2 separate regions of the Homo sapiens genome follow, and region 2 is linked to region 1. Evidence: promoter capture Hi-C in human tissues and cell types (Jung and others, 2019). All regions are on one chromosome and are shown on one strand. The core of a region is centred on a gene start or on the middle of the fragment in contact, and the rest is flanking DNA. Distances in the headings are between cores, read along the strand shown.

Region 1 (4,816 bases), core at 1,512-4,011:
TTATTCAACCTCTTACAGTGGCTCTAATGGTTCTTTTCCTCTGTGAGCTAAATACAATTTTCTGGCAAGAACTCAAGATGCTCTCATTTCTACCTTACACGATAGATGGCCTTTTTCACCCCATATCAATTGCTTTTCCTGCTATGCCTGTATCTTTTTCTTTCCAATCCCAAAGCTTTTTCCTATACAGCATAAGAATCATGGAGTATCTAAAACATGGAACACAGCTTTTTCCATACTTTTACTGTCAAATATGGAAGGAGAGCCAAAAAGAGGTAATAAAAAAGGTGTGTCATTATCAGTTATAAGGGAAATATAAATTAAAACCACAACTAGATACTATATGCCCACCAGAATGGTTAAACAGAAAATACCAAGTGCCGACCAGGAAGCAGAGTAACTGGAAATCATACACTACTCAGAATGTACAGTGGAACAATCTCTGGAAAACTACTTGGCAGTCTCTGCTAAAGCTGGCTACCCTAAGTCCCAGCAACTCCATACCTTGGTAATATACCAAAAAGAAATAAAGGCATACAGCCAGCAAGACACAAAATGTGCCCTATTCATAATAACCCAAGAGTGAAAGCTACCAACGTTCATCAACAGACAAATGGGATATATTCATGCAATGGAATGTTATAAAAATAAGTCACCTCCAATTATATGCTACAATATGGAGTAATCTTGATATTGAAAGTGAGAAAGAATATATTCTATATGACTTTATTTATATAAACTTTGAACACAGGCAAAACTATCCTATGAAGTCAAAACAGTGCTATACTTGGACATCAAGAACAACTGGAAGGAGACAGAGTGGGTTTTCGGGATGTTGATAATGTTCTATTTCCTGACTGGGATGCTGGTTAGTTGAGTGTTCACTTTATGAGACTGAGCTAACACTTAAGTACACTATTCTCTGCTATACTTCAATAAAACTAAGAAGATAGGAAAGACAGGATTTAAGCTAAAGTATCATCAATCATTTCTCCAATGATTCCCTCCCACTTCTCTATAATTAATCCCTATGCATTTACTCATCTGGGTTTATCCAGTACAACAAATTCCTTTCTACATATTCCAACTGTGCTTTGTACGGCTATTTAAGAAAAGTGACTATTTTTTAAAGTTGTTATATAAGTGACAAAGAAAAACTGAAAGTTTAAACATTCTTTATACCTATGTAAATACTTTATCACAACCCCGTAGGACATTTCTGCATACAATAATTAGGATCAAAACTATGTCTATTTTAACATAATGGAATAATCACTAGAAACAAGAACACAGATGTGTATCTCAAGCTTACATTCTAATACCTTGAATATAACTACAAAATGTATTTCTGAATCAGCTTTGTTTCCTTCTGAGTTCAATAATTCAAAACATTCACAATAAAAAAATTTTTTTACGTGTAGTACAGAAAGCACAAACATACTCTGATTAACAAAGTAACAACCACATTATTCCAGTAAATTAACCCAGAGTTGTAGGAAAAAGGGTGTACTTACTGTGTAACTGGAAGAATAACCTGAAGGGTAAAATTCAGGGGCATTCACAGACAGCTTAGACATTAATACAGGAGCTACAACCACCTGGGGCTTAGCCATTGCTGACTCCGAGTTCTGCTGTGGGATTTTATCCTGTGAACTAGGTGGAGCTCTCAGGGGCCTCGTTTGCTCTGCAAAAGAAAAAAAAACGGGGCGTCAGATGCATTCTTTCCTTTGTACAGCAACTTGCTATATACTGAAAAACCATCTGAAAAGCGTCTGTTTTTAAGAGTTAAACAGGAACCATCATGAAATTTATGGTTATCGCCGGAATGTGTACAGACAGCCTACAAAAAGGAACAATAGACTTGCTGTGACTCCGTTATGGGCATACCTGCCTCTCAAATGAGTGCTTGCGAGCTTTTTTCCTCTCTGTCGTTTTAAAGGGGTCGGTGGAAAAGAGGTGGTTACTCGCTAGGGTCTCGCTTTAGAGGGCTGCTGAGGGGAGGCGATTTTTACTTCCTCCCGGGACCCCGAACTCCGAGACCGCGCACCCGGCCCCTCCCCCCAGCCAGGCGCACAAAGGATTCCAGCAGACACCTTCCAAACCCGGTTCCGGGCCCGTCCCTACCCGGTCACGCGGCCCTCTCGGGGAATGCTTTCGGGGAACCGGGGGTGGGGACCGCAGACAGCGCGTCGGGCCTCGGCACGCGTGGAGGGCCGTGGGGAAGCGTTCGCCAAGGAGGACTGGGGCCCTTAGAGCTGCTCCGTACCTGGGAGCGCCCCGGGCCGGGAAGGCCGCTGGGGGCTGGCGGGGACCTCGCACTGGGCCCCTGGCGGCGGGGTCGTCCTGGGCTGGCGCAGCGGCGGTGGCTGCAGGAAGCCCGGGGCTTTGGGTTGCGGCGGCTGGTGCCGCGCCCGCTCAGCAGGCCCCGCTCCGTTCGGGAAACCGCCGCCCTCAGGCCCGCCCCCTCCGCGGCCCAGGCCCCGGCTCCGGCCCCGACCAGCACCTGGGGCCCGATCGAAACCGTCCGACATGCTCCTCCTCCTCCGCCTCCTCCTCCAGGGGCCGCTGCCGCTGCGCTCGCGATAGGACGCGGGGGGAAGGCGCCGCGGGTCGGCTATAGCCGCCGCGCCTCACTCGGGCCTCATGGAGGAGGAGGGCGGCGGGCCCCGGCTCGGCTGCTCGGTGCTTCTGGCGGAGCGGACGGCAGCCCGAGCACCCGCCGCTCCAGAGCGCCCGCCCCGCTCGGCTACCCTCGGCTTTCCAGTTCTCCCCCAAAACCCGGCTCCCCGCCTTCGGCGCGGCAGGGGCGCAGGCGGGTCACAGCGGCCCCCTGCGGCCCGGAGGCCCGGGACGCGCCCGCGAGGATCCTCCAGTTCGCGGCTGGCCGGCCGCCGGGCCCAGCAGGCCGCCCGCCGAGTGGCGTCTTGGCCACCTGCCGGCCCGCAGCCAGGCTCGGGCAGGGGCATCTCGGTTCCGGGGCCAGGCTGGGGGGGATGAGGGATGAGGGGTGAGGGGGACGCTTACCACAGGCAGGCCCGACCTACTCGGTAGTTCTCAGGAGAGACGTGCGAGACCGACAGTTGACGCCCGGGAAATAAAAACACGGGGGGAGGGGGCGTGGACCCTGCGCCAGGGTTCGCTGGCGCACAGGTGTGTTCAATGACTCGGCTCCGGCCGAGACCCGCGGACTGCTGAGGAGTGGTCCCTGGGAGACTGTCACCTGCTCCGTTAGCATCGGGGGAAGGGAGTAGAAACGGAATCAAAATATGTGTCCCCTCTTTAATTCACCCTAGGTGTTTACCACAGTAGGTCACACCTACGTTTAACAAGCTTCGTTCTCTTCCCGTTAACCTTCCCCTCCAGAAATTTCAAGAAAATGTGCTACCTTTCAGTGTAACTCTGCCCTCTTTTTCATCTTGCATCAGTGCTGTCCAATGAAAATATAATGCGAGCCACAAATGCAAGCCACTTATGTAATTTTACATTTTGGAGAAGCCACATTAAATGAGTGAAAAGAAACAGGTGTGGCCAGGCGCAGTGGCTCACGCCTGTAATCCCAGCACTTTGGGAGGCCGAGGGGGGCGGATCACCTGAGGTCGGGAGTTCGAGACCAGCCAGACCAACATGGAGAAACCCCGTCTCTACTAAAAATACAAAGTTAGCCGGGCGTGGTGGCACATGCCTGTAATCCTAGCTATTCTGGAGGCTGAGGCAGGAGAATCGCTTGAACGCAGGAGGCAGAGGTTGCAGTGAGCCGAGATCGTACCGTTGCACTCCAGCCTGGGCAACAAGAGCCAAACTCTGTCTCAAAAAACAAAACAAAACAAAACAAAAACCAGGTGAAATTAATTTAAATTTATTTAATCCATTATGTTCAAAATGGTTTTTTAACATGCGATTTAAAATATTAAATATTTTCTCTGTTTTTTAGATACTAGTTGAAATCCAGTGTATATTTTACACTTATGGCACATCTTAGTCGGGATTGGCACATTTCAAGGGCTCAAGAGCCACATGTGGCTAGTGGCTACTGCGTTGCACAGCACAATTCTAGATTTTATTAATATGTAAATTGTTGTTTTTGTCAGGCCTGACAGTATTAATGCCAAATAAAGGATAGATGAATATAAGTAACGACAAGGAAGGAAAAATTGATTTCTTTACTGTTGGATTGATCCATCTCCATAAATTCTGATTTTAGCCTTTTGTTTTAAGCAGGGTTTCATGTTTTTCTATCTTTTCATCTTAAGAATCATTTCAATTAGGGACACAAACTCTTGTTAACCGTTTTCTCTTCTCATTAATAAAGAAAACAATGTCTTCCCCTAAACGAATGAGAAAATGGCTTCACCGAGGGCAATCATGAATAAATGGTTCATGCTATTGATGTTAGGCAAAATAATGAAGTCAGGGAAGGAAGCCAGCAGTACGTGTGGCTCTTCGGTGTACGGAAAGTTTAGGATTCAGTCTGCCAGAGCTTAGTTGGGATTCCACTCTTGACTATTGCTGTCTGTGTGATTTTGAGTAAGTAAGGGGTTTAGCTTCTCTGAGCCTCACTTTCCTCATCTGTAAAATAATAACTGTGTGGTAACACTCAGCATATATTGCAGAGACAAGATTACAATTTAAAAATTACAATTTTAATATTTTCAAATTCATTATTGTATGTGGTCACCAGTCACTTCTTGCCTGGACTTTTTTATCATACAGGAAAGACCCATAAACTATGCTAAAAAACTAACAATGAGTTATGTTCCACTGAAGTAGATGCCCCAACTCTGCCCCAAGCTTTTGTTTGCACTCACCACCTTTTCAT
Region 2 (4,816 bases), core at 957-3,456, 550 kb before region 1:
AAGATTTTTTTAAAAATTCCTGGCACCCTCTAAACTTTCTTCTTTCTTGCCTTTCTCAGATACTTTTTTTTTAGACAGGGCCTCGTTCTGTCACCCAGACTGGAGTGCAGTGGTGCAATCTCGGCTCACCGCAACCTACCTCCACCTCCCAGGCTCAAGTGATTCTCCTGACTCAGTCTCCCGAGTAGTTGAAATTACAGGCAAGCGCCGCCACGCCTGGCTAATTTTTATTTTATTTATTTATTTATTTATTTTATTATTATTATTTTTTGAGATGGAGTCTCGCTCTGTCGCCCAGGCTGGAGTGCAGTGGCGCGATCTCTCGGCTCACTGCAAGCTCCGCCTCCCGGGTTCACGCCATTCTCCTGCCTCAGCCTCCGGAGTAGCTGGGACTACAGGCTCCCGCCGCCGCGCCCGGATAATTTTTTGTATTTTTAGTAGAGGCGGGGTTTCACCATGTTGGCCAGGCTGCTCTTGAACTCCTGACCTCAAATGATCCACCCGCCTCGGCCTCCTAAAGTGCTGCGATTACAGGTGTGAGCCACTGCGCCCAGCCTCAGATACCTTTATTAGAAATAAAGGCCAATCAGAAATGAACCCAAAGTATTTAAGAACCATTAACGTCCCTGCTAGATGTCATTTTCATCAATTCCTCGTATGTGTGAATATGCTTTAGCCAAAGACCATCAGAAACTGAGTTTGCAGTTGAAGAAACTAGATTTGTTACTCCTCACCCAAGAACTTATCATAGAGAACCACGAGCTGTCTCAAAATGAGGGTGTTAGAAAGGACATTTTAGTGGATTCAGGCTTGTGTTTGGTGATTTGAGGTATAAAAAAAATCACTGAAAAAGAACAGTTATGTAAAGTAATTGTAATTAATATATAATGAACATTTACATTGTGCTAGAGTGTTCTAAGATCTTTCAATAGTATATAACTCAGGAAAAAAGTGGACACCATGATTAGTGTAATATGCCACTGAGTTTACTGAAAAGGAATATGAAGCATAAGATTTCAGTTTACTTCTGAAATGTTACACCTTATAGTGTATAAGTGATGGAGACCTGGTTTCCTAGGTCTTCACCACCAAGGTATACAGGTCTAGTCGCCTTGGCTTTACAGTCTTTAGGTAATCATTGCCTACCTAAGCTGCCCCACTCACATTTCAACTAGCCAACATTTCTGCCAACCCACCCTCCAGAACAGCAATTTGTAGAGCTGGGGACTACTGTACCACTTCCCAGGCACTTGTCAGAGCCCAGGAAGAACTTGGAAAGATAAAAGCTTTTGGCCAAAGACAGTCCTACCAAGTATGTGCTTGGGTTGAGGAATCAAGGAATGTAAGTGGGAGGAGTCCTGGCTTCTTTCCTACCTGCACTCCTTACCCAGCAACAGACCTCTGACTTGGTCTTGATCCTAAAACAACAACAACCAAACAAAACAAAAGAAACAAAAGGCATTTGATGTTTCTCTATTATTTTATTGAGAAAGACAACCAAACGTTGATAAAGAATAGTGAAGGCAAACTTTTTTAAAGAACATGGATAGACATTATTATTATTATTATTATTGAGACGGAGTCTTGCTCTGTTGCCAGGCTGGAGTGCAGTGGCAGGATCTCGGCTCACTGCAGTCCTCCCGGTTCAAGCTATTCTCCTGCCTTAACCTCCCAAGTAGCTCGGACTACAGGCGCGCGCCACCACGCCCGGCTAATTTTTGTACTGTTAGTAGAGACGAGGTTTCACCATGTTGGCCAGGGTGGTCTCGATCTCCTGACCTCGTGATCCACCCTCCTCGGCCTTCCAAAGTGCTGGGATTACAGGTGTGAGCCACCGCACCCGGCCCGGATAGACATTATTGTAAGTGATAATTATTTCCAAAAGGATGATCCAGTAGAAGCGCTAAAATCTCAGGTAATCTAGTCCCCGAAATCCCTGGATAATGCGGCCCGGAGAGTGGGGAGAAGTAAACATCAATTCTTCCCCAGGAGGGAGGAGAAAGCCAAGTGCAGCATCCGCGGACGTGGCACTGCAAAGGACGTCTTTCCTAAATATCCAACCCTCGGGGTTCTTCCTTTGCAGGAGTCTGTTCTTTTTGCCCCGTAGCCGAACCTAGGCAGGCAGCGTGGGGTGGAGTTGGCAAACGTCCTGCAACCCATGAAGAGCCGCTATGGTACCACTAGCGGTTCTAGGACCCAAAAACTAACGAAACTGCTCAGGAGAAGCTGCAGGCTTGACCCACCAGAGGTGCTGCCACCGAGATCAATTCTGCTCGGACGAATGAGCGGTGCTATGACTCAGAAAGTGCCAGTCCGAGGAACCAGGGATACTGGGACATAGTGAAAGGAGTTAGCCAGCTTTAGGGAGACTGTAAGGGAAGGGTCCCCAGAGAACCTCCGACTGGTGTTTTGTGCAGATAAGGGAACTTGCACAAGGGACTTGCCTAAGCATGCCTGCTGCGGATTAAGAGCGCGCATGCGCACTGGGGGAATGGGATGGAGCCACCCGGGATTCTCGCCTTATACAAACAGGGAACCCAGCCTCCTTAGCTTTCATATAAAAGCCTTTGTATTCAGCCGTTAAGGAGCAACCGGCAACCTGCTTTCAGGACCCTTGTTTTTTATGAGAGCTTTCGTTTACGCTTAATAAATTCTACTCCACTCACTCTTCGATATCCGCGTGCCCACTTCCTCCTGATCGTGAGACAAGGACCCGGATATAGCTGAGCTTAGAAGCAAAAATCCTGCATCAATAGCAAATGCGGACACTGAACGACTAGCGGAGTACCCAGCGGCAAACTTTAGTTTTTGGTGCAGTTAAGGTATTGCCACTAAGAAATCGTCGTCTCTGAGAAATATCGAGGCTTGGAAGGTTGTACAGTGCTTCCACCGAGAAAGCACCTACCCAATGAAACGCCTGTGGCAGAAAAACCGAGCCCAAGCCCTTCCAGCGAAAGTGCTGAAAGAGCGCCTCCTCGGCCAATCACTGGGCTGAGACCGTGAGACAGCCAGCCCGGGGAAAGTGGCGGCGCTAGGAGAGGGGAAGCGTTACCACAAAGCACTTCTGAGTCTTGTGAACAAGAAACGTTCTGGGTTGTTTTGTTTTTGAGAAGGAGCCTCGCTCTGTCACCCAGGCTGGAGTTCAGTGGCGCAATCTCGTCTCATTGCAACCTCCGCCACCTGGGTTCAAGCATACTGCCTCAGCCTCCCGAGTAACTGGGATTGCAGGCACGCGCCACCACGGCCAGCTAATTATTGTATTTTTAGTACAGACGGGGTTTCACCCGCTGGCCAGGCTGGTCTCGAACTTCTGACCTCGAGTGATCCACCCGCCTCAGCCTCCCTAAGTGCTAGGATTACAGGCGTGAGCCACAGCGCCCCGCCGAAACGTTCTGTTGTGTTCAGCGCTTCCAGCGGTGCAGCAGCCGAGAAAACACTGAGTCTCCGCTATTGGCGAAAGTGCTGATGCGAAACTGCTGGCTCGACATAGGCACAGAGCCGCGGAAGAGAACCCTAGAGACCAGGCACCAGCTCTGCTCCCCGACTCACGGGAGAAAGCTAGTTAGTAGGAAGCTGAGACATGATACTCAAAATCAGTAGAAGAAATTATGCCACATTTACTCTCCTGGGGAAGGCAGTGGGTAAGAAAAAATAAAATACATAACATTTACATAAAAAATAAAATAAATTTTTAAAGCAAACAGAAATGAAAATAAAATACACCAGTAACCTCGCTCCCAGAAAAAGACACATCAAAAAAAATTTTTTTGAGTATACAAAACATACAAATAACCCTACAAAGAAATTGCAGTGTTGAACGATGCGATCCTACGGCTATATTTGTATTAGCACTAAACCTGTGCCTCTTGCGCCTATTCGAAAATTCCTCGGATTAAGAAGAAACAGCCATGGCTAAACCGGTATTTGCGACACCAAAAAGTTCCTGTAGCCTAGACACCTCAACTTCTGCATGAGTGAAAAATCACAAGCACAGCCAGGGCGAGAATCTCTATTGTGAAATCACACTTGGTATGACTAAAAGATTTCAGGCACTGCTAAATTTTTTTTTTAATTACATTCTCCAGTACCCAGATTTCTACAAGACTTAAAAACCGTACGAACGGCTATAATGGGGGTTCCTATTACAAAACAGGAACTTGCAACGACTACGTAGGCACGGTTAAAGCCAGCATTGTTACAACTAGAAATCGAAACTGGAATAAATCTCAACTTGCTACGCTAAGAAATAGCTAAACCCTGACTTGGTCAGACTAAGAAATCGGGAGTTTGAGAGCAGCCCGGGCAACATGGCGAAACCCCGTCTCTACAAAAAATTCTGGGTGTGGCGATGGGGAGCCTGTAATCCCAGCTGCTGGAAAGACTGAGGCGGGAGAATTACTGGAGGTTGCAGTGAGCCGAGATCGCACCACTGCACTCCAGCCTGGGAGACAAAAATGGACAAACAAACCAACAAACAAAGTTAACATTCTGAATAGGTTTATCAACATAAAGACACTGCTAGCTAACATTGGCTAGCCTCTCTAGATCTGCTAGAGATGTTTGCCTTTCTAGATCTGCTTACCATGCTTCAGTCACCTCTATGTTGCAAGAAGTAACCTGCATGGACTGCACTGGAGAGCTACTTTTGCTCCCAGGATTCTGATTGAGTTTAGGCACTGAAAGACACCAGCTGTTCAGAGATATGGAGTAGACCTTGCTTTGTTCCCCCTGGGCCTCAGTATATTGAATTATTTTACCTGAAGTCAAAATTAGGCTGCACTGCGGCTCCAACAGTTCCAGCAGACACAGGGAGGGC

Evidence for each region. Contacts are between HindIII fragments. The study calls those that stand out against the background at their distance.
Region 2: a fragment that was not itself captured here is called in contact with the fragment with the promoter of PAIP1 in region 1 in 1 of the 25 tissues and cell types used here (lymphoblastoid cells).

What each region holds. Positions count from the first base shown.
Region 1 is chr5:43,554,316-43,559,131 of GRCh38, forward strand. It overlaps PAIP1 (poly(A) binding protein interacting protein 1), which reads right to left and starts at 2,762. Exons shown (of 11, transcript NM_006451.5): 1 at 2,267-2,762; 2 at 1,515-1,684. The coding sequence starts at 2,531. RefSeq lists a silencer at 2,198-3,057. The HindIII fragment of the contact is 2,914 bases long and covers 2,319-4,816 here.
Region 2 is chr5:43,005,272-43,010,087 of GRCh38, forward strand. No RefSeq gene overlaps it. Among named protein-coding and RNA genes, the nearest start is that of FLJ32255, 14 kb to the left of the region's middle. RefSeq lists enhancers at 2,058-2,910, 2,396-2,445 and a silencer at 2,886-2,975. The HindIII fragment of the contact is 7,081 bases long and covers 1-4,816 here.